Regions from separate parts of the Homo sapiens genome. Here region 1 is linked to region 2. The links are contacts of gene promoters, found by promoter capture Hi-C in blood cells and fetal thymus (Javierre and others, 2016). All regions are on one chromosome and are shown on one strand. The core of a region is centred on a gene start or on the middle of the fragment in contact, and the rest is flanking DNA. Distances in the headings are between cores, read along the strand shown. Region 1 holds the start of UPF2 (UPF2 regulator of nonsense mediated mRNA decay). Region 2 holds the start of KIN (Kin17 DNA and RNA binding protein).

Region 1 (2,991 bases), core at 481-2,980, 4.3 Mb after region 2:
CACCGTGATTCACCTCAATACACGTTTGTTTTATGTCGACTTAAAAAACTGAGCACTAAGTGATATTTAATAAAATGCTAAAATTCTTATTTCAATAACTTCAAGCTTTAACAGCCAAACTTTTCATCTAAAGTGTTTCCAAAAGTTTTTCAAGTCCAAATACAATTTTAAATAGGTCCTTTCTCAAGATAGTGAGGAGAAAAAGTCGTGATCTTTTCACTGGAATCCGATTAGCTGTTACAAATTAGTTTGCTGAATACAATTATATTCAGACTACCCTTAAAAGGAAACCATGCTTTAAAACCACCTTCCTAGCTCCCAAAATAGTGTCCTGTCACTTGAACTGTATATTTTATTTGGTATTCTAAATACATTCTGAACTTCCAAAAGAAAGTAAAACTAATTTACTAGAAGTACCAATGGAGTGTATTGGGGGGAAGAGGGCACAAAAGGGGGTGTTTCCCTTTTAAAGACATTCCCTTGCAAAGTACCATATGGATTATGTATGAAATCCCAATCAGAGTGCTCCGAAAACACTCCAGTATGAGAGAATGCGGTTTTACCTTTCAATTCTCTTATTCAAAATGCTGTCAGGACAGAACAGCACAGGAACACTATCTCCCAGTTTCTGACTTTATTTTTTAAAGAACATCCTTAGTATAAAGGACGTATTAAGAACTGTTAGAAATTGTACCAGCTCACAAATGAGGAGACTGACGATGTTAAGGAACACCTAAGAACTATGGAAATGAGATAAAGCGTCAGCGAGGGTTTCACTTTGATCTGATGCATCGTTTCGTGTCGTGTAAGTCCTCTAAGATGAGCAAGAGAGCTGAAGGTCCGATCACCCCAGCGTGGACCCAGCTGGCTCTGCTCTGCCAACCTGGGGACCAAATATCCTGTGATCACTTCCTTAGTCCAACAGTCCTAGCAAGAAGAGAGTGCTTGGCGCCTTGAAGAGGTGAAGGTAAAGTGAAGAATCAACCAGCCTATGTGATTAAAAGGAAGTCAACCAAACAGCCCATGCCCACCATCCCCAGATACACCCCAAGCCCCTTCCCCTACACATACCTCTCCTACAAACCCCTGCTCTGGTGGTGTAGGAACCTCTAAACCCACCACACTTCCCCGACACAACTCCCCTTCCCACAGGTATCCACGGTCACCTTCGCGGACCATCGCTGCCCCAACCCCAACTTCTCGCCCCACACTCCCTCGCCACAGAAGCCTTCCCGGCCGGTCTCCCCACTCCGCAGCCTCCCACACACGCGCCCTCCCCACTTTCTCGCCCTCGCTTCCCTCCCGGCTCTCGAGGAGCTTCCCCCGACCTCCCCTCGCTCTCCTCCACGCCCCCGAACACTTTCGCCCCTCCACCGCGGGCTCCCCGCCTCCAGTCTCGAGGCCCGGCCCAGGCATGTGGGGCAGGCACCTCCTCCACCGCCCCCCAAGCATGGCCCGGCCCGGGGGCTCCCGCGTTGATGGGAGCCTCGGAGACAGGGGGTCTGAGGAGAACGACGCCGGACCCGCGGTCCCTCCACTGCTCGCCGACCCCGGAGAGCTGGAGTGTGGAGTCGCCTCTGGGGTCCCCCAGGGAGTAGGAGTCTAGGCCGGTGCCCCCCAGCCCCATTTCCTCCCGATCGTTGGAGCGGAGGGGAAGGAGGATCCCCGGGACTCACCTCGAGCCTGTTGTCAACATTAGCCCCGGGTTTCCCAGCACCAACTCCAGCGCTCGGGCTCTCCCCTCCCCTCCCCCCACCTATCTCGCAGCCGAGGGCCCGCCTTCCCTCAGCTCCCCCTCCTCCCTCCGCCCGCCAGCCCTCCCGCCCGCCACTCACCAGCGCGGCCGGGCTGAGAGTGGGGGCGGGGCGGAAGGAGGCGAGAGGGAAAAGGCCATCCGCGCGACTGCCCGATTAAAAACAGTCCTGATCGTCTTCCCTGCGGCATGCCGATGCCCTCAGCTTGACTCTGGGGTGGCGGGTCCGGGGCAAAGGCTCATATGAGTGCCATTCACTTAACAGCTCTTTCAAATTCCCCAGTCGATGAGAAGAGCGAATTTTTCAGACTGGCAATACGTAAGGTAGCCACTACCAGCACCTCAAACCAGGGCCCCAGCGGAGGGGTGGAGTGTTCCGAGGACCCGAGGCAGGAAGTGGATTGGTCGCCAGGAAAGGGAAAGCGCCTGAATTGGAGCTGCGCAGGCGCAGGCGCTTCGCGGGGGATGGGGGTGGGAAGCGCGAATGGGGCGGGGCGGAGCTCACGGGAGGCGAGGAAGTGTGGTGGAATAGTGGGAGGGTTACGGAGCGCCATTAAGGACAAGCCCGGCCACGTGATTCTCCTGGGCGTTTCCTGGTGCGAACCTAAGGAAGAGGTCTAAGAAGAGAAAGTTTGATTGGACTAATTCGAGGGGAGACGTTGAAGATTTAGAAAATTGGAAACTGGAGAAACTAAACCATATGGCTGGTTTGGGAGGTGGGAGTCGCTTAGGAATGGGTCTAGTCTTAAGAATGCCCTAAAAGACATCGAAAGTCCTGCGGGGGGATTTCCAGAAGCACTTCTAGGTGTTCGACGTAAAAACCACCCAGGGCGAAGAAGAATCAAGGCTTTTTCCATACACTTCTTAGAAAGTACCTGGTTCTAGCAAGCAAACTTTTAAAAATTACAGTGGCAAGACTTCCCTGAGTTATCAAATCACCCATTTTAAAAAAAAAATGGCTAGCGTCGACATTTCTTCTGAATGCGAACCCAGGCCGACTTTCAAAAATGGGTATCAGTTTATCCACACTGCTTATTTCCTCCTGAATTGCTGAAATGGTGCATCTGGCCTCGAAACAGTACTGGGTTCTGCCAACATGATCCGAGTAGGTGGCTCTGGCTGGTCCGGAGCTAGAGGAACAAGGGTGCGAAACTGGTCTTGACGTTTGCTTGACTTGAGGGGGCCCCACCTGGTGCCCAAGCCCACGTAATGAACTACTACCAACCACAAATACTTGA
Region 2 (3,451 bases), core at 384-2,883:
TGAAATATCCTGATATTGGTATTTACCTTAAAATATTTTTTAAAAAGTAAATACGGCAAAATTACTTAAAGTGTTAAGTCTGGGTGTTACAGACTGCATGTCTGCGTCCCCTCAAAGTTCATATATTGAACCCTAACCCCCAAGGGAATGGAATTAAAAGGTGGGCCTTTGGAGATGACTGGATTTAGATGAGGTCACAAGGGTAGAGCCTGCATGATGAACAGGGTGGGACCGTATCTCAAAAAAAAAAAGAGGAAGAGAAGTTTCTATTAGAGCTTGCTCTATCTGCTTTGTGAGGATAGAGGCAGTTTCGCAAACCAAGAAGAGGACCCTCACTAGAATCTGACCATGCCAGCACCTTGATCTTGAACTTCCCAGCCTCCAGAACTGTGAGAAATAAATTTCTGTCATTTAAACCACCCAGTCTACTGCACTTTATATGGCAGTCCAAGCAGACTAAGACATTAGATAATGCATATACAGGTATTCCTTAATAGAACTAAAGAGAGTAACTGTATCAATATTAGTATGAGTCCTACCTAAAATACCTCTTCCTTCACTTGCAGAAACACTGGATTAGATTATTCCAATTGCCTCAGTGTTCTTCCACCCTTACCCAATCCAGTCCAATCTCCGGAGAAAAATATGATCACATCACTAGCCTGCACAGCATTCAATCAACCACCTCTTTAATGGGGAAAAGTGTAAATTCCATAGTGTAGCCATATAAGGCTTTTCGAGATCTGCCCAGACTCCTTGAGCCACTCTATATATACTTCACTCATTTAAAACTCAGCGACAATCCTACAAGTAGGTGAAATTATTATTCCCTCTTTACAGATAAGTAAAGGGGAATATAAGTAAATAACTTGCCCAAGACCACACGGTTGGTAAGTGGCCCTGCTTGACTTTAAATTTTGACAGTCTGATATATCCATAAACCAGATAAATCCATAATTTTAACCACAATATTATTCTGTGCCCGGTACAGTGTAGGTGCTCAATAAATGCTTGCTAGATGAGTAGTGTGGAAGAGCTTAGCTCTCCTTTTTCACCTGATCCCAAAAGAGGAGTGAATCCTAACCACCCTGTTTCTCTTAAGAGTCAAGTCAAGTAAGAGCTGATGACTGTTACTGGCATTGCCCGGGCGTCTAGTATTGCAGTATCCCCGCCCCTGTGAGGGGTGCAAAACCTTTTCTGATTTCATTTCTTTGGTGGTGGGGATCGGACTGGGGAGGAATGAGGGGTCGCAGAACACAGGCTGCCCGCTGGGCCCGGGGGCTGCGGGGAGGGACGGCTCTCGTGCGCTGAGTAGTTGACTCGCCCACTGCAGACCTCAGAAGCCTCACGACCCGGACCCCGGGAGCCCCAGCCCCGCGCCCTCAGCCCCGCGTCCAGGACCTGATCCTGGATTGCCAGGGGCCCTCCTGGGAAGACGGGGCCACTCCGGGCCCACTCACCTCGTCCCGGCACTGCTTCTGGCACATCTGGCAATACCAGCGTAGCTTCTGCAGCCCCTTGGACTTGATCCTGTTGGCGATAGCCTTGGGAGTAAGAAAATCCGACTTCCCCATGGCGACCACGGCAGCGATCACTTTCTGGACCCCAGTACTCAGCCAGCCGGAAACGGAACCGGGCTGGCGGCGGTGGGCGGGACAAATCCCAGCTGAGAGGCGGAAGGAGGTGGGGCCTGGGAAGACTGGGTTGCAACGGTCGCGAGACTCCCCTCGCCGTAGCGCGAAGAAACGAGACTGAAGAAGAGAGCAAGGTGGGAGGGGCGCGCTGGGGAGCTTCGGCGCATGCGCGCTGAGGCCTGCCTGACCGACCTTCAGCAGGGCTGTGGCTACCATGTTCTCTCGCGCGGGTGTCGCTGGGCTGTCGGCCTGGACCTTGCAGCCGCAATGGTATGGCAGCTTGCGGGAAGATCGGCAGGACCGCAAGGGATGGAAGAGCTTGGGCACGGGGCAGGGAGGAGGAGATGGGCGCGGGGGCAGATGTGGGGTCGCAGGGCCTAGCTGGGCCCCTGGCCCGTCGGAGGCGCCGGGTAGCGGGGGCTGCAGGAAGCGGCTCTGAGGTCGGGCAAGGTGTGCGCAGGGCCGGGCTCCGGCGGAGCAAGGTCCCGCCCGGTTCCCTGAGGTCGGAGGGCCACCTGGGACCTCGGGACTGCGGCCTGAGTCCAAATTGACGTCTGGGCGGTCTTGAGTTCCCTCAGCTAATCAGCACTTCCTGAGCTTCCACTTCCACTGCAAGCCAGGCCCCCAGTCTCAGGGCCTGCAAGGTGACGGGAGCCTGAGCAATAGCCCAGGGGAAGGTTAAGTCGTGCTTTTTGTCCTTGACGCCCTTTGAAACCCTGTAGTGCTGGACAGAGTGACCCTTTAAGATTCGATCGAGTCAGAGAGCGCGGCCGTCGAGCACCTCCCGTGTTGCAGACGCTTTGCTGGGTGCTGCAACAGCAAAGGCGAACATCCTAGATGCCTCTGAGGGTGGTTTTGGTGCAGAAGGGACCGTACAGATCTGTCTGAGGGCGGGGAAGGGAAGGACACCTAGCACTACCTTGAAACCACTTGCTGAAACCGTAACCCTGCAAGGTCATGAAATTGCCCCCAGGTCCTGGGGGAGGAGTTCGGTGGGCTTTTAAGTGGCATTTGTTAACTGACATGCAACTAAAGGGTGCCACGAGCCTCGAGAATTTTAAACATTAGTTCCGGGTAGGGGGACCTGGGCTGGGGGAAGTGCATATTAGAAGGCCCGGGAATGGGCAGGTAAAAGTTGGTTTGTGGGTGGTGCTGTTCAGTTTTGAAGCTTGACGGAATCTGGAAGAATTCCAGACACGCTGCTAAGGGGATTCTAGGCTGTGTCGTAGCAATTCCCTGCTCTTAACAGTGTGGAGGATTTCTAAGGCGCTACAGTGCTAAACTAGATTTTCGTATCCTAATTTATATGAAGGGACCATAAAGCATTAGTTGAAATAAATAGGTTTTTCATTAAGCAAATAACTGATAGTAATATACGAGATTTTCAGAATGATATCTGATGTGAATTAGCCACATAAAATTTTTGGTGGCTTGGCCTTGGAAGTCAGATTTTTTTTTCTCTAATATGGAAAAAGAACATTCATGGGAATTAAAAGGTCACTGTAGTTGAATTCTCAGTTGTATAGATTGTCCCACTTGTTAACCACTCAGCAGACATTAGCTGAGTGCTTCCACTCCACCCGGTGGTACTTGGAAAGTGCCCAAATGTGATGGTGAGCAAATAGATAAGGTCTCAGTCAGTTTCCTGGGACAGTGCCTGGCATGCAGTGGTGCTCTGCGAACATCAGCTCTCCTGGCCTTACCTTCTTGCCACGCATTAATGTTATCTGTCAGTATTTTTACAACCTTAGTTTCTAAGTTGATCTTTAAAAAAGTGGAAATAGTTTCTGAAACAAAGACAATATTTTACAAAAAAT

Evidence for each region. The method cuts DNA at HindIII sites, captures the fragments that hold promoters and counts their contacts. A CHiCAGO score of 5 or more calls a contact.
Region 1: the fragment with the promoter of UPF2 here is called in contact with the fragment with the promoter of KIN in region 2 in 1 of 17 cell types (monocytes); the score reaches 5.9 in monocytes.

What each region holds. Positions count from the first base shown.
Region 1 is chr10:12,041,079-12,044,069 of GRCh38, forward strand. It overlaps UPF2 (UPF2 regulator of nonsense mediated mRNA decay), which reads right to left and starts at 1,731. Exons shown (of 22, transcript NM_015542.4): 1 at 1,677-1,731. It overlaps LOC105376416 (a long non-coding RNA gene), which reads right to left. Exons shown (of 3, transcript XR_930666.2): 3 at 2,721-2,883. RefSeq lists enhancers at 639-728, 1,899-2,148 and silencers at 1,249-1,298, 1,319-1,458. The HindIII fragment of the contact is 3,508 bases long and covers 104-2,991 here.
Region 2 is chr10:7,786,360-7,789,810 of GRCh38, forward strand. KIN (Kin17 DNA and RNA binding protein) reads right to left here and starts at 1,634. Exons shown (of 13, transcript NM_012311.4): 1 at 1,461-1,634. The coding sequence starts at 1,574. ATP5F1C (ATP synthase F1 subunit gamma) reads left to right here and starts at 1,818. Exons shown (of 10, transcript NM_001001973.3): 1 at 1,818-1,904. The coding sequence starts at 1,849. RefSeq lists enhancers at 1,587-1,906, 2,359-2,902. The HindIII fragment of the contact is 3,793 bases long and covers 1-2,800 here.